5 separate regions of the Homo sapiens genome follow, and regions 1, 2, 3 and 5 are each linked to region 4. The links are contacts of gene promoters, found by promoter capture Hi-C in blood cells and fetal thymus (Javierre and others, 2016). All regions are on one chromosome and are shown on one strand. The core of a region is centred on a gene start or on the middle of the fragment in contact, and the rest is flanking DNA. Distances in the headings are between cores, read along the strand shown. Region 1 overlaps FCHSD2 (FCH and double SH3 domains 2). Region 2 overlaps FCHSD2 (FCH and double SH3 domains 2). Region 3 overlaps FCHSD2 (FCH and double SH3 domains 2). Region 4 holds the start of P2RY2 (purinergic receptor P2Y2). Region 5 overlaps FCHSD2 (FCH and double SH3 domains 2).

Region 1 (4,512 bases), core at 1,225-3,724, 280 kb before region 4:
TTTTTTGCCTCTGAGCTTTCACACAGGCTTTTCTTCTGCCTTGACTACTCTCTGCTTTCTCTCCCATGGTTTGGCTCACTCTTATCAGCCTTAGTCTCTTCACTTAATCATCTACTTGGATATCTCTATTGTCTTTTTGCTTCATAACTCCTGATCATAGCATACAACCTCATACTGGTGATATTTGTTTGTATGTCCCTCTTTTTGTTTAAGTTCCATAAAGGGAGGCATCAGGTCTGTCTGTTTACCATTCCATCTTCTGTGTTGAGCATAGGGTTTGGCATACTGGTAGTGCTCAATAAATATCTGTTCAACAAATAATAACACCAATCAGAATTCGCATGATTACAAAAAATGAATAAACCTATACTTGAGCCCCATGACTGAGAAATCTAATGATGTTACATAACATTTATAAAATCGTATACAAGTTAAAGGAGTAATTGATTTCATAAAACTCTAATTCAGTAATTTTCAAATATTTTCAGTAGTGGCATCCTTTTATGTGGAATTCCAAGACATAAAATATATATAACCTTGCATGCCTTCTTCTTCCTTCTAGCAACAGATCCTGCTGTCCTGATCTCAGGGGTAAACTTGCAGGGTAGGCAGATATGCAAGACAGAACCTCAAACCACTGTCCTCTGCCCCTAATTACTGGGTGGAGGTGGTCCCTTGACTTAAATTAGGTCATCCCTGGGATAGAGGCTGAAAGATTAATCCAAAAATGGCCTATCCTTCCCACCAAAGTTATTCTTCCTACCAAGCAGATAGTGCCTATCTGTAGTAGGAAAGAATTAAACCAACTCACAGAGAAAAGCAGTGATGAGAAATTTGGCAAAGTGAAGATGGGAATGGTGGGCAGAGGACAGGGACAGTGTCCTTGAATTGGGTAGTTCTTGAGCAAGCACCATCTCATCCTTTCTGTGATTTGGTTACCTTAGCCAACAAATTCCTCTGTTTTGCCTAAGCTACTTTGAGTTGGGTCATTGTTATTTGCAATCAAAAGACTTCTTACTAAAGAGTAATAAATGATACCCAACTTATATTAGCCATATCCAAATTGTGTCTTTTGGTTGCATTGTAAGGAAAAAAAGTTGATTCACATGGACAATAAATTGCAAGTAATAATAATTCAATTGCTTTCCTTACTATTCCTGGTTCTCTTCAATTAAACAGATCTCAAAGCTTAAAGTAGACAATTTTTATGTCAAAGCTGAATTGCAAATACAATCCAAAAGCTGCATATATTTCTTACAAATTTAAAGTAAAGTAAAAACTATTTAGTGCTGGGTACAGTGGCTCATGCCTGCAATTTCAACACTTTTGGAGGCTTAGGTGGGCGTATCACTTGAGCCCAGGAGTTCAAGACTAACTTGGGCAACACAGCAAGACTCCATCTCTACAAAGAATACAAAAATTAGCCAGGTGTGGTGGTATGTGGCTGTAGTCCCAGCTATTCAGGAGGCTGAGGTAGGAGGGCTGCCTGAGCCTGGGAGGTTGAGGCTGCAGTGAGCCATGATCGCGCCACTACACTCCAGCCTGGGCAACAGAGTAAGACACTGTCTCAGAAAAAAAAAAAAAAAAAAAAAAAAGAGCTATTTAAAGCTTACAACAAATCATAAAAGTATCATAACAGTTTGAGAAGGGCACGTATGATGAAGATGCATCTGTATCTTGTCTAGCATTTTACATTTAAATGAGCAAAACACAAGAATGTTCTTTACACTTGTTTAAGTGAACAGACATGCACAAACTTCAATTCAAAGAGACCTCTATGAAGAGCCATGCCTTTTTTTTTTTTTTTTTGAGACGGAGTCTTACTCTGTTGCCCAGGCTGGTGTGCAGCGGCACTATCTCGGCTCACTGCAACCTCCACCTCCTGGGTTCAAGAGATTCTTCTGGCTCAGCCTCCCGAGTAGCTGGGATTACAGGTGCATACCACCATACCCGGGTAATTTTTGTATTTATTAAAGTAGAGACAAGGTTTCACTATGTTGGCCAGGCTGATCTCAAACTCCTGACCTCAGGTAATCCACTTGCCTCGGCCTCCCAAAGTGCTGGGATCACAGGCATGAGCTGCTGTGCTTGGCCATAAATTTCTTAATCAATGATAGAATTCACTTATAAATGCTCAGAAATGGCAGGATAAGCATTCTTTCAAGGTTTATATAAATGTGAGTTAATCTGGCAGTATGAACTCCTTGGTGGTCTCCAATATGCAAAAACTTGGTAGGTAATTTATCCAAATATACTTAAAAAAATAGCCAAACTTTTTGACTATTGGACACAAATTTCTAAGGGAATAATTCTGTAGTAATTGAGAAACTGAGAAACCATGGGACCTTTGACCAGCAATATGTTTTAATGACTCCACAATATTTTTAAACAATTGAATTTGAATGCCTTTAAGCAGCCACGTCCTTTCCAGGTAGCTATTAGGCCACACACTCCCTTACACATTACCTCTGCCCTCTTTATTCATTTTATCTACTTGATCCTTAAAATCAGTTGAGTTTGGAACCTAAACTCCCAAACTCATAATGTTAAATACTCAAAATAGTGAAGAAAAAAAAAGGAATATTCTAAGGACAAATTCAGAAACTTAGAAATCTGGAATGCTCCACTGAACATTTACTTACAGGAAAGTGTAAATGTCCTAGAACTTGTTTGAAGAAGAAGATTATGATGAATTAGGAGGGAAAATGGGTCATTTTCCTAAGCATTTGATGTAATTTCCCCTAAAGTAAGAACTTTAAACAGTCCCCTCCTTATTTAGATCCAGGAGGGGCACAGATTCTTCAGCAATAAAGTTTTGCTGAAATCTCTTGAGTTTCCTTAATGCAGCCTAGAAAAACAAACTCTTCTTTTCTGAGAGCAACGGGCATTTCTAAAATAGACTTTGGTAAAAGTCAAGGATATAAATATCAAGATGATGATAAATGTGAGTTGTCTTAAAATTAAATCATGAAATTCTACAGTCTTTCTTTGCTGATACTGGAAGAAAACAGACTGCCTCCTTGCTTTTGTTTATCTTTTTCAGAAGACCCCAAGCTACGCCTAATCAGGTTACAAAGAGAAAGTAGCTTTTTACAAGAAATCAAAACAAGTACTGGGCTGTATTTACATTACTGTAAATATCTTAATATGTAGTTGAATTTATCAGTTGATATAAAGTAAAATCAGAAACATATCATCTAATTTTTTATGTGGTTGTTTTATTTAAAAGCACTGAGTTACTTCAGGTTACTTCATGTTCTGTGAAAGAGGAAACAAATAAGGAAGTTTATGTCTGTAAATTACAAAACCAGGAAAGGAAAATTTCAATGCTGTTTTTCTATAAAGCTTGTGTTATCCTCTTGCATTACTACTAGCATGCAAGATAAGTCAGATGTCTGAAAAAGGTCTGCTGTACTACTTATGCTCACCCAGTTGTGAGTGGGCTAAAACCACATAATATTTAGGTTGCCATCTCAAAACATCATGGGCAACAGAAAACCTTGAACCCTATATACTTTCATTCAAATCCCAGTTCTACCACTTACTAGCAACCATCACTCTGGGAAGACACTGACCGTTCTTGAGCTTTCCATTCCTTATCTGACAGAATCATAAGAGTATGGTATGTGTAAATGGTGGTTATTAAAATAATAGGGCTTAACCATTTCTATGTTCTACCAGAGAATTTCATCTATCTCCCTTGTAAGCCTATAGTAAGGAATTTTGGTGACAGACTGGGCTTCTGAGTCTGACTCTATTATGTACTTGAGCAGTAGAACTGCTCTAAGTCTGTTACCTTATCTATAAAATAATTTAAAAATAGTATCTCCTTAAGAGGTCTGTTAAATCAATATTTTCTATGTACCATTTTAATTCCCTTGTTTTTTTTACTATATATTTTGGCATGGTTGCCTGGGAATTATCAGTGTGATTTTATCAAACTCAAGAATCTCGACCAGGTGCCATGGCTCATGCCTGTACTCCCAGCACTTTGGAAGGCCAAGATGGGAGGCTTGCTTGAGGCCAGGAGTTGGAGACCAGCCTGGTCAACATAGCAAGACTCCATCTCTAATTTAGAAAAGAAATAAAAATTTTTAAAAAAGAATCTCAATTGACTGACCTTTAAATTCAGATTCTCCCTTCTGCCAACTTAACTTTGCTGCTGAACACTTATAGTATATCTTTACTTCAGTTATTGTATTTTTAACTCCAGAATTTATATTTGATTCCTTTTTATAATTTGTATCAAAGATGATATTCTTTATTTGCTGAGATATCATTCTCATACTTCCCTTCAGTTCTTCAGACATGGTTTCCTTTAGCTCTTTGAAATATATTAAAAATAGGCGATTTAAAATCTTTGTCTAGTAAGTCCAATGTATGGACTTCCTTGGAGACAGTTTCTCTTGCCTCCTTTTATCCCTGTGTATGGGCTATATATTCCTGTTTCTTTATATGCTTCATAATCTTGTTAAAAATTAAACATTTAAATAGCAGATTTCTGCTCATCAA
Region 2 (4,351 bases), core at 1,458-3,957, 350 kb before region 4:
AACTTTCATAACTCCTGACTGTCTACTGAGTAAAGAATTAACTAATTCTTAACTAGGAATAAAAAATATCTTTCACAGTTTGGCTGAGTTATTTCCTTCTACTGTTTCTTTCCACACCCCCCTATGCTCCCACCCCACTGTCCCACTTGCTGTTCCTCTGATCCATCATGTGCTTGCGTGCCTGTGTGCGTGCCAGTCCCTCTGTAAAGGCCTTCTCATTGCTTTTTGATGCCTGGTGAGTGCTTATCTTTTGACGGTCCGTTCAAATATTACCCTTTCCACAAAGATTTTTCTAAGTATTTCTCAACCTTCCTTAGGCAGTTAATAATTCCTTTTTCTCTGCTCCTAAAGCACTCTATATAGATCTAATTACAATGTGATAGGCACGAAATTATACTTAGCTATTTAACTAAGTATGCCTGTTTGATATAATTGGGGGCTCCTTTAAGACTCGAGCATTGACATTCAGCGTTATTCTCCTGTTATGTGTTCAGTAACCTTTTTTGAATAAATATCCTATATAACTGTGCTTCTACTTTTCCAAGAAAAGACTGAATAGGCTCTACCAATTCTTTCAAGATTGGCTCTACCAATCTTGAAAGACTGCCATTCAATGATATTGAGTTATAAACTACTGTGTCTCTTTAATAATAATAATTTTTAATATAAAAGAACTTCTCTCTAACAATTCTAACATTCTTCAGCACAAGCTTAAAGAATTCCCCCTTTGGGCCAGGTGCGGTGGCTCACGCCTGTAATCCCAGCACTTTGGGAAGCCGAGGGGGGCAGATCACGAGGTCAGGAGATCGATACCATCCTGGTTAACACAGTGAAACCCTGTCTCTACTAAAAATACAAAAAATTAGCTGGGCGTGGTGGCGGGTGCCTGTAGTCCCAGCTACTCGGGAGGCTGAGGCAGGAGAATGGCGTGAACCCAGGAGGCGGAGCTTTCAGTGAGCCGAGATTGCGCCACTGCACTACAGCCTGGGTGACAGTGCGAGACTCCGTCTCAAAAAAAAAAAAAAAAAAAAAAGAATTCCCCCTTTGACTTGGCTGCCTTTATTGACTAACTTGTTTGTTGACTAACAGTAATGTCTTTGCTTTTAAACTACATTTATGATGTGGCTGGCAGAAATAGCAGAGATTGAGAATAAAAAGTTCCTATTCTCCAAATTCAAGAAAGGGAATAACTGCTTATTCTTTAGCCCTTGTTCCATAAACCATAAACAAGTAACCACAGAACTAGTTTTAAACCCCTCCCGATCAGAAAGTAACTGCTGCTTTGCTCCAACAGCCATGCCTCTGAAAGTCAGCTAATCTGTGACAGCTTCTGCTTCTACTAGTCCTCCAAACTCTAAAAACCAAGGCTGAAAGTGAGCCAACCCCTTAAACATTCCTAGTTTTGAAAATCTGCCAATCCCTGACATTCAAGCTTCTCAAAACCCTATATATCAACTCTTGCTTTGTTCAGAGTCAATGTGTTTTGTGTCATTCTCTTTTGCTTAGCAAGTAAAACATTCAGCCTCTTTTGCTTAGCAAGTAATGCATTCAGCTTCATTGTTTCACATATGCAAGTGGTGATCTCTTCCTTAACATTTAAGGTTCCACTAAGCTAATTTTAGGTTAAGTAAGGTTCCACTTACTTAACCTAAGTAAAGTTCCACTCTCACTTGGTGGCTTTCTGTGGGACTCTTGGACAAACAAGTTGGAGCTGGTGCAGTGGCTTGTACCTGGAGTCCAAGCTACTCAGGAGACTGAGGAGGCAGGCTCACTTGAGTCCAGGAGTTTGAGGCTGCAGTGAGCTATGATCATGCCTGTGAATAGATAGCCACTGCACTCCAGTGACAAATACCTTTGGTACATAATTTTTTTTTTTTTTTTTTTTAGAGCCAGAGTGGTTGCTCTTTTGCCCAGGCTGCTCTTGAACTCCTGAGCTCAAGCAATCCTCCTATCTTGGCCTGCAAAAGTGTTGGGATTACAGGTGTGAACTGCTGTGCCCAACAGGTACATAATTTTGATTTCCCTCCGAATTCTCTGCTTGGGGAGTTGATATCAAAAACAATTTATGTTCTGACTTGTATCACTGGGCTTTCTTTGCTGAATTAATTTTTTTTATATTAACGTTTTTAAGCAAATAGATTTTTATAAAAATTGAGGTAAAACATTACATAAAATTTACTATCTGCACCATTTTAAAGTATACAATACAATGGTTTGGGGTATCATATACGTCTTTATATAAGACAATTGGAATTTTTGGCTTAGAGGCACTCCAATTGGTAAATACTCTTGCAAAAATCTGCTTATTCTTTTCATAATTTCTTTTTTTGGTAAAACTTTATTGACATATAGCTCAGGTGACAAAGACCTTTTGGCACACAACTTTTTTTTTCTTTTCTTTTTTTTTTTTTTTTTTAGAACCACACAATTCACTCATTTCAAGTCTGAAATTCAGTGGCTTACAGTATATTCATAGTACATGCAACCATCACCACAGTCAAATTTAGAATATTTTATCACCTCCAAAAGAAACCATGTACCATTTACCTATTGTTCTCCAGCCCCCTATTCCCTGCAGTCTTGACAATCACTATTCTACTTTCTGTCTATAAAGATTTGCCTATTCCAGACATTTAACACATATGAAACAATATAATACATGGTCTTTTATGACTAACTTCTCTCACTTTGCATAATATTTTCAAGATTCATCTATGTTGTAACATGTATCAGTATTTCATTTTTTTAATGGCCAAATAACATTCTATTGTATGGATATACATTAGAATGTTTATCCATTTGTCAGTTGGGAGTCATTTAGGTTGTTTCTATTTCTTGGCTATTATGAATAATATTGCTATAAACGTGTGTGTATAAATTTTAGTGTGGACATGTTTTCACTTCTTTTGGGTTTATATGTAGGGCTGGCATTGCTGGATCATGAAGTAATGCTAAGTTTAACCATCTGGGGAAATACTAGACTGTTTTTCAACGTGGCTTTATCATTTGATCCCACCAGTAGGGTGATGAGGGTTTCTCCACATCCTGGCAAATGCTTGTTAATGTCTGTCTTTTGACTCTAGCCATGCTAGTGGATATAAAGTGGTATCTTACTGTTGTTTGCATTTTCCTGGATAACTATTAATGTTACAAATCTTAGGCCAGGCACGGTGGCTCATGCCTATAATCCCAGCACTTCGGGAGGCTGAGGCGGGCAGATCACCAGGTCAGGAGTTTGAGACCAGCCTGGCCAACACAGTGAAACCCCATCTCTACTAAAAATACAAAAAATTAGCCGGACACGGTGGCGGGTGCCTGTAATCCCAGCTACTCAGGAGGCTGAGGCAGGAGAATCGCTTGAACCTGGGAGGTGGAGGCTGCAGTGAACCGAGATCGCGCCACTGCACTCCAGCCCAGGCAATGGTGTGAGACTCTGTTTCAAAAAAAAAAAAAAATGAATCTTTTCATGTGCTTATTTATGGGTCATTCATACATCTTCTTTGGAGAAATGTCTATTCAGACCCTTTTCCCATTTTTAAGTTGAGTATTTTTGCCTTTTTATTATTATGAGTTTTAATATATTCTAGAAGTAAGTTTCTATCAGATACATGATTTGCAAATATTTTCCCCCATTCTGTGGGCTGTCTTTCATTTTCTTGATAGTGTCATTTGAAACATGAAAGTTTTAAATTTTGATGATGTCTAATTTATCTAGTTTTTCTTTTGCTGCTTAGGCTTTGGTGTTATATCTAAGAAACTAATCCAAGGCCACAAAGACTTACCCCTGTGGTTTTTTTTGTAAGTTTATTAGCTTTCGCTGTTACATTTAGGTATTCATTTTGAGTTAGTTTGTATATATGATGTAAAGTGGGGTTGTTAAGATAATTAACTGGAAGGTCATTAAACTGAGGCAGCTCCAGCATCCCGGGTTCCTACGTAAGCAAACCAAAACTCAACTCAGTATAAATGGTAAAACAAAACTGAAGCTTAACCAATCAAAAACTGCCAACTACCTTCTAACTAGAAACCTTCCACTGGAATGATCCAAAAAAGGATACTACCGTGCCACTTTAACCAATCAAATATTTGCTTTGTTTTGCTTCTGAGTTCACCCTATAAAAGCATTCCTCTGGTGTTCCATTGGTGGAACCCTGAACTGCATATGATCTGGTGCTGCCCAAGTAATTATCACTATTTTCTCAAATAAAAAAAAATTTAATGTGCCTAAGTTTATCTTTTAACAGGGTCAAACTTCATTCTTTTGCATATGGATATCCACTTGCCCTAGCACCATTGTAGTATGCTTTTGCTTTTTTAAGAGACAGGGTCTCACTGTTGCCCAAGCTGGAAT
Region 3 (4,103 bases), core at 8-2,507, 320 kb before region 4:
ACATAAGAACAAAGCTTGCCATTGGTCACTGTCACTTGTAGTCATCTTTTGGTTAATATTAAAATTCTACCCAAAAAAGCCCTAATTAAATTACTATAATAATACTGTGACTATACATATTCAATTGGGTGTCTTGGACTTTTGTAGGGAAAACAGTGTAGTTTGAAATGGGTTATATTAAAAAGTTAAAAAAATTTTAAGACAGTTTATGAAAATCATCAGAAGAGTTACATTTTATCACAGTGGTAACTTTAAAAGTCCTATAACTTTCCTAACTATATCTTACGTAAATTTAGATAAAATATTTGCTGAATTCTCTTGCCTGTAAGGCAAGGGCATATGCAAAGTATATGTAAGTGTCTGCTTAGTAAATGAAAAATAAATTTGTTAAACCCATAAGCAGTTCAAAATTCCTAATTCAAACTATAAAATTCAAAATAAAAGAACAATACTGTCCTGCCCCTGCAATGGATCTCATCCTATTACTATCTTACCTGAGTATATAGTTCTCCATTTACCATCATATATAAAACTCAAAAATAACACCTGGTTGCATCCCACTTTCATCATCAAGTCTACTTGCTATTTCAGGTATAGTCATGTACTTTCAAACTTTTCTGGCTCTAATGCTTATTAGCTGAGTGACCTTGAGCAAAGCAAATTGCTTTTCTTTCTATTTTTTTTTTTTTTTTTTAAAGACAGGGTCTTGCTCTGTCACCCAGGATGGAATGCAGTGGTGTGATCACGGCTCATTGCAACCTCCACCTCCCGGGCTCAAGTGATCCTCCCACTTCAGCTTCCTGAGTAGCAGGGACTACAGGTGTGTGCTACCATGCCCAGCTAGTTTTCTGTATTATTATTATTATTTTTTTTTTAGAGAAAGGGTTTCGCCGTGTTGCCCAGGCTGGTCTCGAACTCCTGGGCTCAAGCAATGCACCCACCTTGGCCTTCCAAAGTGTTGGGATTACAGGCGTAAGCCTCTGCACCCAGCCAGATTTCTTAACTTTAGTTTCCTCAACTGTAAAAGAAGGATTAAAAATAGCACCTACAATATAGGGTTGTTGTGAAGATAAAATAAATTAATATAGGTAATGCCATTAGAAAAATGTCTAGCACGAAATAAATGTTCAATGAATGTCACCTATTATTTTTATTCTTTTCAATTTTTGTTTTTGCTTCCTGGCATGTTGCTTCTCCCTCTTTGCAGAGTAAACTGCAACTCATCTTCAAGATCTAATTCATAACAAGTAGACACAATCCAATAAAAAAATAGAAACAAGGTTTGAATAGACATTTTACCAAAGAAGATATATGAGTGGCTAATACACTCATGAAGATACTCAACATCATTAGTCATTAGGGAAATGCAAACCAGAACCACGAGATACTATTTCATATCCACTAGGATGATTATAATCAGAGCCAGACAATAATACATGTCTGGCTGAGGCAGGAGGATCTTTTGAGCCCAGGAGTTCAAGGCCAGCCTAAGCAACATGGTGACATCCCCTCTCTACCAAAAATAAAAATAAAATAAAACAAAATAAAATAAAAATCAGCTGTAGTCCCAGTTACTCGGGAAGCTGAGGTGGAAGGACTGCTCGAGCCCAGGAGGTTGAGGCGCAGTGAGCCGTGATTATGCCATTGCACTTCAGTCTGGGTGACAGAGTAAGACCCTATCTTAAAAAAAAAAAAAAAAAAAAAAAGACTTTTTAAATGATTGAAGGTCTGGAATGATTTTTTAAAATCATAGGCATTTATCTTTTTCCATTATGAAAAAACTAATTGCTTCCCAAGTCCTGAACATTTCTTCTTAGAAGACAGAATAGCACAGCAGACATAACATTACTATTGCAATCACAACAGTAACATGTCATTAATTTACCGTATGACTCTGGACAAGTCTCCCTTACTAGGCTACAGTTTCCCCTTTAATAAAGACAAGATTAGCTCTAAGGTTCTCTCCAGCACACCTGTTGAAGAAGATTAAGGTGCTTCACACAAGATGAAAAATGAGTAGCTCAATTTCTTCACTATAAACAGGGAAGGAAATTCTTAATTTATAAGAGAAAACACAGCTGGTGCATCAGGGCCTCTTATACATGTATATACATAACTTTCATCCCAACACCAGGTCCCACCCTTCATTAACATGCAAACCCACACTTCCCATCCCTCCCGCCCTTGACCCACACCCCATATACCTCAGCTATGGTCATTCTCAGAGCACTGACAGGGGAGAGCTCAATATCCACCAGTTGGGCGGCTTTTAAACTCTGCCCAGTAAAGATTGCACAAGGACAAAAAACATAGCATAGAGTTAGAAATTTAAGGCAAACAAGGACACAACACCTAAGAACATTTAGCACAGTGTTTAGAAACAAAAGATTTAGGGCTGCAGTTGGGCTGGGAAAAAGTGAGATGAGAGTCACTGTTATTCTGATTTTTTCTGTGGAAAATAGCAATGATAAAATAACATCAAATTAGTCATAATTTTAAGACAAGCTTGACACACTTGTCTATACCCTGTATCTTCTAATGCTCTGCTTCATCCCTCCCAGGCTTCAAAGAAGTCAAATCACAGGAGAATGTGAATAAGTCATTGGCAAAAGCTGATTTGATTAAAAAAAAAAAGCACTACTATAAAGGGCAAAGGTTGTAATATAGAGGGAAATGCTGATTTCCTACATTTCTTTATATAGCTGCTAACAGAGCTACTTAAAGTATAAGAAAAGTAATGAAGATATCGCTGGCAAATGTGTTTCTATTAAACTGATACCATTAAACTCTGGAACTATATCATAAACTCCCTTGGTTCTGGTTCTAAATTTATCAAAATACTTTATGAATATAATTTGATTTTCCTTTTGGCTTGCCTACATTGACAGAATGTACTAATAATGCCAATGCGTGCCTTCTCATTTTGCAGAAGTTAAATTTCAATTTTTATGTTACCAAATTAGCATTTTTGTTCTTTTTTAAAAATTTAAATAATGGCAAACATTTCCCATAAACTCAAGGACGATTACTGTATGCTTTTAAACAATTGCCAATTGGGGCCGGACATCGTGGCTCACGTCCGTAATGCCAGCACTTTGGGAGACTAAAGTGGGTAGGTGGCTTGAACTCAGGAGTTCGAGACCAGCCTGGGCAACATGGTGAGACCCCCCCATCTCTATTGAAAATACAAAGAAAATAGCCAGGCACAGTGGTGCGTGCCTGTGGCCCCAGCTAATCGGGAGGCTGATGTGGGAGGATCACTTGAGCCCAGGAGAGGGGGGCTGTAGTGAGCTGAGATCACGCTACTGCCCTCCAGCCCCAGTGACAGAGTGAGACCCTGTCTCAAAAATAAAATAATAATAATAATAATAAATAAGTAAAAATAAAAACAAAAATTGCCAGTTGGAATCTACAGACAGAAAGTAGATTAATGATGTCAGGGGCTGAGGTGAGGAGTATAGGGAGAGTGACTGCTTAATGGGGTCAGGATTTCTTTTTAAAGTGATGAAATGTTGTGGAACTACCAAGTTATGACAGTGCACAGCACTGGAAATGTAGTAAGTGACAGTGAATCAATCTCACACTTTAACTATGGTTAAAAATGGTAATTTTTGTGTTATGTGTATTCTGCTACCATAAAAAAAATGGCAGAGGGGTAGAGGCATTAAAAAAATTGCTAATTTGAGGTTTATGTAAGTGCTTTAATATTCTAAGAAATCTGAAAGGAATTATAAAAGGCCTATAATCTTTTATAAGACCAACCAAAATATTTCATACACATGTTCATTATTCCATTTATTAATTCTATTCTGGTTTTTTTTTTGTTTGTTTGTTTGTTTTGAGACAGAATCTCACTCTGTCATCCAGGCTGGAGTGCAGTGGTGTGATCTCGGCTCACTGTAACCTCTGCCTCCCAGGTTCAAGTGATTCTCCTGCTTTAGCCTCCTGAGTAGCTGGGATTACAGGGGCCCACGACCAAGCCCAGCTAATTTTTGTATTTTTAGTAGAGACAGGGTTTTGTCATGTTGGCCAGGCTGGTCTTGAACTCCTGACCTCAGGTCATCCACCTGCCTCGGCCTCCCAAAGTGCTGAGATTACAAGCG
Region 4 (4,208 bases), core at 594-3,093:
ACAAATTAGCCCGGCATGGTGGCATGTGCCTGTATTCCCAGCTACTTGGGAGGCTGAGATGGGAGGATCCCTTGGCCCTGGGACATAGAGACTGTAGTGTGCTGTGATCATGCCACTGCACTACGGCCTGGGTGACAGAGTGAGGCCCTTTCTCAAAAAATTTAAGACAGGCCAGCAAGTGAGAGATTAGTATTACTCCCTTTTGCAAAAGAGGAAACTCAGGCTCAGAGAGGAGTCATAGGACAGGTGAGGTAAGACTGGAATCTAAACCCAAGGCTATGGGGTTCAAGGACTAGGCCCCTTCCTCTGCTCCTCAAGCCTCACTAAGTCACCTGTGTGGTAGCTGAAACGCTGTATGTCTCAGGAATGCAGTTTCCTCAGCTGTAAAGTAAGGGAATTGGGCCAGAGCAGGGGCAGAGCCCTGGGCAGGCCACCAACCAGATTTGCCCGCTGAAGGCTAAGGTCGAGCCTGGGTCCTCAACTTGGCGTCAAAGAAACTTGTTTCTCCTGGGCTAAATGGCAGTGACAGTATAAGGTTTGAAGTTTTGGAAGAGGGGAGAGAAAGAGAGGGTTGGCTGGAGTTCCAGTGCCCAAAGGGTCTTCCCCACACTGGAACCTGAAGGCCTAGGCCCTATAACTCGGGCTATGAGGATACTTAGGTCCCTGGAAGGTGCGTGGCCCAGCTTAGACAATAGGCGCAGGAGGCTAGACAAGGGGCCTTTGTGTCTCCCAAGCAAAGGCCCCAGCAGGACTGCAGAGGCGGCTCAGCCACTATGGGCTGTGTGTCCACTCTGCTACTGCTCCTGGTGGGGCTGCAGCCAGCACCCTTCCTGGCAGCCAGGCCCAGTCAGCTGATATGGAGCCCAAGAGGGCCCAAGGCCCCGAAGGCCCGGGGCAAGTTCCTTGGCTACAGGAAGAGGCCTCCTCTGCACTTGTCCAGCCAGCGGAGCGATTGGCTCCATTTCACAGGAAAGAAGACCCTGCCAGGGAATGGAACTGGGTCAAGGTCTCCCAGAGTCAGTGCTGAAGCCAGACAGGAACCTACACTCCTGATTCCTAGACCAGAAATGAGAGAGAGGCGGGGTGCTCATTCATTCATCCATTCACACCTTCAAGGATTGAGCACCTCCCAGGACCTCTAGGACAGCAGCAGGAAGAAGGCAGACCTGGTTCCTGCCCTCGGGAGCTCACAGTCTCCGAACGGGTCAGACATGCAGCCGGTAGCCCGACCAGGGAAGGCCATTAGAGTGGGGTTGACGACAGAGAAGAGAGGTAAAGCAGCTCAAGATAAGGGGCCAGAGTGGGGAGTTCAGGGAGCTGCTGATAAGATTAAGGCAGGGAAAGTGGGGAGCACGGGAGAGGCGGGATCCTGAGTACCCTGCTTTCCTAACCACGGTAATGGAGAGAGGCACCCCCTTCCCCCACTTTCAAGCAAGGGAGGTACGTCCTTAGCCTGGGGTTCCGAGCAGGTATCTCCCAGTAGGTCCCTTCCTGGCCAGCCGGGCTGGGGCAGGGGCGGGACAGGGGTAGGGTGGCGCGGTGGCTGGGCGCAAAGGTCCCGCAGTGGGCCACGCAGGCACCGGGCTGACCTGGCAAAACTTTGGCGTCTCTGAAAACCTCTGGTAACCAGCTCCCTTCTAGCGTGAGGGAGCCGGGAGGCCTCCTTCTGGCCCGGCAGTGAGAGCGTCGCCGCCCGACCCTCCCGTTGCAGCACCGGTACAGACACGCTGACCCCGCGGCCTTGTCGCTGGGCGGCGTCCCGGAGCGGGTGGCGCGGTGTCTACCCGGGCGGGTTGAGGGCGGTGCCAGGGTCAGTCAAAAGTCCGCCCCGCCCCCTGCCTGGCCCGGCTTCGGGGTTGGGGAACAGCGCAGGGAGGTGGGTAGCCGGGCTCCCAGGCACGTGGGTCTCTGCGGCTGCGGCGGGACCCGGGCACTGGCACCCGGGAGCGGCGGCGACGGCACCCTGAGAGGAGAAGCGCAGCGCAGTGGCGAGAGGTGGGGTGGGGCGTCTGGAGGGAACAAGGCGCTGGGAGAGGCCCGGGGAAGCGGCGGGCCAGACTGGCGCAGGTGCGGACTGGGCGCGGGGCAGGGGAGGGCGCTGTGGAGCGGCTGTCGCCCCGGGGCACAGTTGCGAGCCGGCGTGTAGCGCATAACTGGACGGCTTGAACGCGCCTGTGGGTCCGTGGTTGAACTTTGTCTCCACGGGAGCGTCGGTCTCGGTGAGTGTGGACGGGCGCCCCAGTAGTGAGGCTGTGCGCGTCAGCGTACTGGGGAGGTCTGCGTGTTAGCGGGTGAGTGTGTGCGCCCCTCGGGGCGACTGGCCAAGCCTGCGGAACTTGTCTGTGTGTGCTCCGATGTGAGCGTCCCCGTGGCGTGAGGCGGTGGCCGGTGCCCAGAGACGCGAACCCCTGGAGACCCCCTACCACTGTCCTAACCCCAGGGTCACTCTGGGTGGCCACCTACCATTGGTAATGTTGAGGGGGCAGTTGCAGGGAGTGGGCGGGGGAGGAGGGAGTGGCCAGAAAGGACAGTTAAGCCTCTGTCCCCGGGCTTTTAATCTGGCAAATGGTGCGGTAGAAAGGGTCAGTCAGGAGAAAGGCGATACCCCACCCCCCAACCCGAAGGCTGCCAGTGGCCCTCTTGGGGTCCTCCAGGAGCGCAGCCCAAGGGTTGGGGACTGCTGGAGACCAGAATTGCCAGCTCGGGATTTGTGGGGTCCATGGCTGCTGTTCCTCTCAGCATGGCATCCCCAGCTTCCCAGGACCACAGCCTGATCTGCCTGGTTTGTTTTGGATCTAAGCTGAAATAATTATGAGTTTTGAGGATCTGGGTGGAGACCCAGGCAAGTTTATTACCTGTGGGTGGAAGTGGAAGGAAGAAGATTCTCTGAGCAGACAGGTCCACAAGAGAGCTCTGGAGACTCAGAGATCTATGTTCCAATCCTGTCTTGGCCACTGTGTGGCCTGGGCAAGCCGTCCTTTCTCTGAGCCTCAGTGGCCTCGTCTGTAAGAAGGGACTAATGATAAGGAATTTGAGGGCTGTTGAGGAGCTGATGAGTGTGTCATGTTCAGCACCAGTGTCCCCCCATGGGCAGGCTCACAGCTTGGGGATGGGAAGTCAGTCCCTGGAAGGAGCCTCCCAGAACCAGAATCCCAACTGTGCCCCTCCCTAGGGCACAAGCCTTCCACAGGACCAAGCCTGAACCCTGTAGCCTGGGACTTAAGGTATTTGATAACTGGGGCCTGCCAGCCTTTCCAGCCACCTCTCCCGCCTGACTCTTTACCTTGCAGCAGCTGCCTGGAGTCTCTCATTTCTTGCCCCTGGCCTGTTGCATATTCTACACTCCCTCTCTGATAAGCCCTCCTACTCTCACCTTCCTCAACTGGAGAACTACCCAGACTTGGGACCCAGCTCAGATGTCCTCTCCTCTGGAAAGCCTTCCTTGATCCCTACAGCTGGGTTGGAGCCTCTTCTAGGCCCCTACAGGCCTGGGGCTGACAGCCCTGGTCCCACCTGAACCGTCATGATCTATGTCTGTCTCCTCCTTTCCTCTTCCCAGGTCTAGGGGCTCCTGGAGGGCAGAAACTGGGTCTTATTATTTCTGTGTTGCCAGCACCCTGCACAGGGCTGAGCTGAACTGAGAGAGCAGCAGTGGCGCCCATCCCCTGTCTCTGGCACCAGCTTCTCCAGTAAAGGCCCGGCTGCAGGGGAGCTCCATGTCACTACAAAGAAGGGCAAACCAGAATCTGGTTATCAAAGTGGGTGGCACAGTTTGCCAGAACAGTGTGATCTGGGACACTGTAGGACCTAGAGTGCCCAGGCTAAAGACCTAGAGATTTTATCCTGAAGGCAATAGGGAGCCATGGAAATTTATGAGCAGAGGTGTTTCATGGTCAGAGCGGCATTTCAGAAAGCGCTCTCTGGCTGCAGGATGGAGAATGGATCAAGTATTGCCAAGTGCAGGGAGGTCAGGGCATTTGTGATGTCAACACTAGAACTGTCCCAGGAGTTGTTTGAACCCTAATTGAGCCCTTGCCCCTTGGCCAAACACTTTTCCCTGAGCCTTCAGATGCTCCTGCTGAGGAATTTGGGGACCTGCAATTGATCTCATCCCAGCTCTGTTCCCAGCTGGTTGAATGACCAGTTCCTGCCCTGCCAGGCTCTAAAAGGAGGCCAGAACAAGTAAGATCCTGCATGGGAGAGTATGT
Region 5 (4,674 bases), core at 1,659-4,158, 300 kb before region 4:
ATGGGAATTTTTTTTTTTTTTTTTTTTGCAAACTAAGCATCTGACAAAGGTCTAATACCCAGCATCTATAAGGAACTTAAACAAGTTTACAAGAAAGAAACAAACAACTTCATTCAAAAGTGGGCAAACGACATGAACAGACACTTCTGAAAATAAGACATACATGTGGCCAGCAATCATATGAAAAAAACTCAACATCACTGATCATTACAGAAATGCAAATCAAAACCACCATGAGATACCATCTCACACCAATAAGAATGGTTATCAATAAAAAATTAAAAAAACAACGGATGCTGGCAAGGTTGTGGAGAAAAAGGAACACTTTTACACTGTTGGTAGGAGTGTAAATTAGTTCAACCATCGTGGAAGACAGGGTGGCAATTCCTCAAAGACCTAGAGACAGAAAAACCATTTGACCCAGCAATCCCGTTACTGAGTATAACCCCAAAGGAATATACATTGTTCTATTATAAAGACATATGCCTGCTTATGTTCATTGCAGCACCATTCACAATAGCAGAGACATGGAACAAACCTAAATGCCCACCAATGATAGACTGGATATAGAAAATGTGGTACATGGTCGGGCGTGGTGGCTCATGCCTGTAACCCCAGCACTTTGGCCAAGGTGGGTGGATCACCTGAGGTCAGGAGTTCAAAACCAGCCTGGCCAACAAGGCAAAACCCCAGCTCTACAAAAATACAAAAATTAGCCGGGCGCGGTGGTGGGCGCCTATAATCCCAGCTACTCGGGAGGCTGAGGCAGGAGAATCGCTTGAACCTGGGAGGCAGAGGTTGCAGTGAGCCGAGATCACGCCATTGCTCTCCAGCCTGGGTGACAGAGCAAGACTCTGCCTCAAAAACAAAAAACAAAAAGAAAAGAAAAGAAAATGTGGTACATATACACCACAGAACACTATGCAGCCATAAAAAAGAATGAGATCGTGTCCTTTGCAGGAACATGAATGGAGCTGGAGGCCACTATCCTTAGCAAACTAATGTAGGAACAGAAAAGCAAATACCACATGTTCTCATTTGTAAGTGGGAGCTAAATTATGAGAACACATGGGAACAACGCACACTAGGGCCTACCAGAGGGTAGAGGGTGGAGGGTGGGAGGAGGGAGAGAATCAGGAAAAATAACTAATGGGTACTAGGCTTAATACGTGGGTGATAAAATAATGTGTACCAAACCCTCCATGACACAAGTTTACCTACATAATCTGCACATCCTGCACATGTACCCCTGAAATTAAAATTAAAGGGAAAAAAAGGTTTATCAATTTTGTTAATCTTTTCAAAAAACTAGCTTTTAATTTCATTGACCTTTTGGTACACAACTTTTTTTTTTTTTTTTTTTTTTTTAAAGAGACAGGGTCTTGCTCTGTCACCCAGGCTACAGTACAGTAGTAGCATGATCATAGCCTGCTGCAGCTTCCAATTCCTGGGCTCAAGTAATCCTCCCACTTGGGCCTCCCGAGTAGTTGGGACAACAGGTATGCAGCACCATGTCTGGCTAATTTAAAAAATTTTTTTGTAGAGATAGGGTCTTGCTATGTTGCCTAGGCTGCTCTTGAACTCCTCAGCTCAAGCAATTCCCCCACCTTGGCCTTCCAAAGTATTGGGATTACAAGCGTGAGCCACTGTGCCCAGCCTCCTTTGTTCACTTTTATATTGGGTTGTCTCTGATGTTGAGTTGTAAGAGTTCTTTGTATATTCTGAATATGAAACTTTTATCAGATATGTGATGTGCAAATATTTTCTCTCATCATTTGGGTTGATTTCACATTCTTAATAATGTCCTTTGATGCACAAAAGCTTTTAATTTGATACAGTCTAATTATCTATGTTTTCTTTCGTTACTTGTGCTTTCAACGTCAAATCTGAGAATGCACTGCCAAATCAAGGTCATAAAGATCTATCTCTGTTTTCTCTTATAAGTTAGGTCATTGATCAATTTTGAGTTAATTTTGTGAGGTAAGGGTTCACAACTTCATTGAACTTCATTCTTTTTTTTTTTTTTTTTTTTTTTTTTTTTTTTTTGAAGCAGAGTGTTGCTCTGTCGCCCAGGCTGGAGTGCAGTGGTACGATCTCAGCTCACTGCAACCTCCACCTTTCGGGTTCAAGCGATTCTCCTGCCTCAGCCTCCCAAGCAGCTGGGACTACAGGCACCCACCACCACGCCCAGCCAATTTTTGTATTTTTAGTAGAGATGAGGTTTCACCATATTGGCCAGGCTGGTCTTGAACTCCTGATCTCATGATCCACCCATCTCGGCCTCTCAAAGTGTTGGGATTACAGGCGTGAGCCATCACACCTGGCTTGAACTTCATTCTTTTGCATGTGGCTATCCAGCTGTCCCAAAACCTTTTTCTGAAGAGAATATTCTTTCTCTATTGAATAGTCATGGCACCTTTGTTGCAAATCAATTGACCATAGATGTTCAGGTTTATTTCTGAACTCTCAATTCTGTTTCATTGGTCTATATGTCTATACTTATGTCCATACCACGCTATCTTTACTACTGTAACTTTATAGTAAGTTATGAAATTGGGAAGTGTGAGTCCTCCAACTTTATTTTTCCTTTTCAATATTGTTTAAACTATTCATGGTCCCTTGTAGTTCCATATTAATTCGAAGACTGGGCCGAGTGCAGTGGCTGACGCCTGTAATCCCAGCACTTTGGGAGGCCAAGGCAGGCGGATCACTTGACGTCAGGAGTTCAAGACTAGCCTGGCTAACATGACGAAACCCCGTCTTGACTAAAAATACAAACAAATTAGCCAGGCGTGGTGGCATATGCCTGTAATTCTAGCTACTTGGGATGCTGAGGCAGGAGAATCGCTTGAACCTGGGAGGTGGAGGTTGCAGTGAGCTGAGCTCATGCCATTGCACTCTAGCCTGGGTGACAGAGTGAGACCTTGTCTCAAATTAAAAAAAAAAAAAAATTGAGGACCGGCTTTTCCATTTCTGCAAAAAAGGCCATTGGAATTTTGATAGGGACTACATTGAATCTGTAGATCACTTTGGGGAATATTACAATATTAGCAACATGAAATCTCCCAATCCATGAACATTTATTATATGCATTTATTTATATCTTTTATTTCTTTCAGCAATGTTTTATAGTTTTCAGTGTACAGGCCTTTAACTCCTTTGGTTAAGTTTATTCCTAGATAGTTTATTCTCTGAGTATTATTGTAGTTGGAATTATTTTCTTAACCTTCTTTTTGGATCATTCATTGATGGAATATAGAGATGCAACTGATTTTTGTGTTTTTATCTTATATGTTGCTAAATTTATTAGCTCTATTAGTTTTTTTAATGGGCTCTCTGAGAGTTTATAAATATAATCATGTCATCTGCAAAGAGAGGTAATTTTAATTCTTCTTTTTCAATTTGGCTGCCTTTTATTTCTTTTTCTTACCGAATTGCCCTGTCTAGGACTTCCAGTACAATGGTTAATAGCGGTGGTGAAAATGGGTATCCTTGTTTTGTTCCTGATGTTAGCAGAGGAAGATTTCAGTCTTTCATTATTGAATATGACATTGGTTGATGCTATCATGTTATGTAAGTTCCCTTCTATTCTAGTTTGCTGAGTGTTTATCACAAAAAAGTACTGAATTTTGTCAAATCTTTTTCTGTGTCTATTGAAATGATCATGAAGTTTTTTCCTTCCTTTTATCTACTTTTTTTGGTTAGACTTCGAAGTATTAAGAACAGTAACACTAGACAAATTAATTTTCAAATAAATGTAGAATAACATTGTTATTTTCTGAATTCTTTTTTTAAATTTATTTTTCTGAATTCTTAAATGAACTTTGTTATTAATTGGAAGGCATTTCCTTATGGAGACAAAAAGCAAGCACACACAAACAAATTATAAAGGCCAGTAGAGCTACCTTCAGAGTTACTATCCTAGAGAAAATACCTATGACAACATCTGCTTCAGTTACATATACAAAGCATTTCATAAAATATTAAGAAGAAAAGCAAGCTTCATAAATAATTAAAGTTTAACAAAAGCTCCTAGGGCCATCTGTTTCCATTTAGGGGATGAATGATATAGGAAGCACTTTAACATTTACAGTATGTTGGATGAATTACCACCAAAATATCTTTGGGGATATGTCACATTTTGAACATGGTAATAATAATATAAAATAAAAAAAATCTAAAAAGTGTCAAACTTCCCTTTAGGTTGCTTTCAGCAGCATAGCAAGAGCAGCATAACAAGCTCTTCATAACAGAAAAACACATGGCATAAAACTTGTAGGCCTCTTCTGGTACTTGGAACAAAAGGGCACTACATTATTCTTATTAAATTTTTATTCCTACCACTTTCAATTTAAATGTAAGAGCATCTCATTTATTCCTCATTTCTGGGGAGTGAGATACTCATATGAGTGAATGCAGAAAATGAAAGCTTATCTCTTTATGTGTCCAAACTAGTTCATAAATTCTTAATTCATTTTCTATTAAAATAATACAAGCTAAAGAGAATATAGTAGAAGATCATGGAAAGCACTATGTGTGAGTGTGTAACCTCAGGCCAAGCCACATAAACTTCTGAGTCCAATTTCCTCCATATAAAATGAACATGGTAATGGCGACCTCATGGGATTCAAGATATATCCCATGCTAAAAGTCTTAAGAAATTGTTAAGTGTGT

Evidence for each region. Contacts are between HindIII fragments. The CHiCAGO score rates a contact against its expected background, and 5 or more counts as called.
Region 1: a contact is called between a fragment that was not itself captured here and the fragment with the promoter of P2RY2 in region 4, in 1 of 17 cell types (monocytes). The highest score is 5.8, in monocytes.
Region 2: a contact is called between a fragment that was not itself captured here and the fragment with the promoter of P2RY2 in region 4, in 1 of 17 cell types (naive B cells). The highest score is 5.3, in naive B cells.
Region 3: a fragment that was not itself captured here is called in contact with the fragment with the promoter of P2RY2 in region 4 in 1 of 17 cell types (total B cells); the score reaches 5.3 in total B cells.
Region 5: a fragment that was not itself captured here is called in contact with the fragment with the promoter of P2RY2 in region 4 in 1 of 17 cell types (M0 macrophages); the score reaches 5.1 in M0 macrophages.

What each region holds. Positions count from the first base shown.
Region 1 is chr11:72,932,540-72,937,051 of GRCh38, forward strand. All of the region lies in intron 8 of FCHSD2 (FCH and double SH3 domains 2), which reads right to left. Among named protein-coding and RNA genes, the nearest start is that of ATG16L2, 120 kb to the left of the region's middle. The HindIII fragment of the contact is 1,737 bases long and covers 1,607-3,343 here.
Region 2 is chr11:72,869,889-72,874,239 of GRCh38, forward strand. The region is part of intron 12 of FCHSD2 (FCH and double SH3 domains 2); the gene reads right to left. Among named protein-coding and RNA genes, the nearest start is that of ATG16L2, 58 kb to the left of the region's middle. The HindIII fragment of the contact is 2,554 bases long and covers 1,431-3,984 here.
Region 3 is chr11:72,898,053-72,902,155 of GRCh38, forward strand. The region is part of intron 10 of FCHSD2 (FCH and double SH3 domains 2); the gene reads right to left. Among named protein-coding and RNA genes, the nearest start is that of ATG16L2, 86 kb to the left of the region's middle. The HindIII fragment of the contact is 2,491 bases long and covers 13-2,503 here.
Region 4 is chr11:73,216,438-73,220,645 of GRCh38, forward strand. It overlaps P2RY2 (purinergic receptor P2Y2), which reads left to right and starts at 1,844. Exons shown (of 3, transcript NM_002564.4): 1 at 1,844-1,995. LOC124902709 (a long non-coding RNA gene) reads right to left here and starts at 1,756. Exons shown (of 3, transcript XR_007062773.1): 1 at 1,590-1,756. RefSeq lists enhancers at 1,678-2,396, 2,397-3,115 and a silencer at 1,755-1,964. The HindIII fragment of the contact is 6,402 bases long and covers 1-4,208 here.
Region 5 is chr11:72,914,957-72,919,630 of GRCh38, forward strand. All of the region lies in intron 9 of FCHSD2 (FCH and double SH3 domains 2), which reads right to left. Among named protein-coding and RNA genes, the nearest start is that of ATG16L2, 100 kb to the left of the region's middle. The HindIII fragment of the contact is 2,179 bases long and covers 1,820-3,998 here.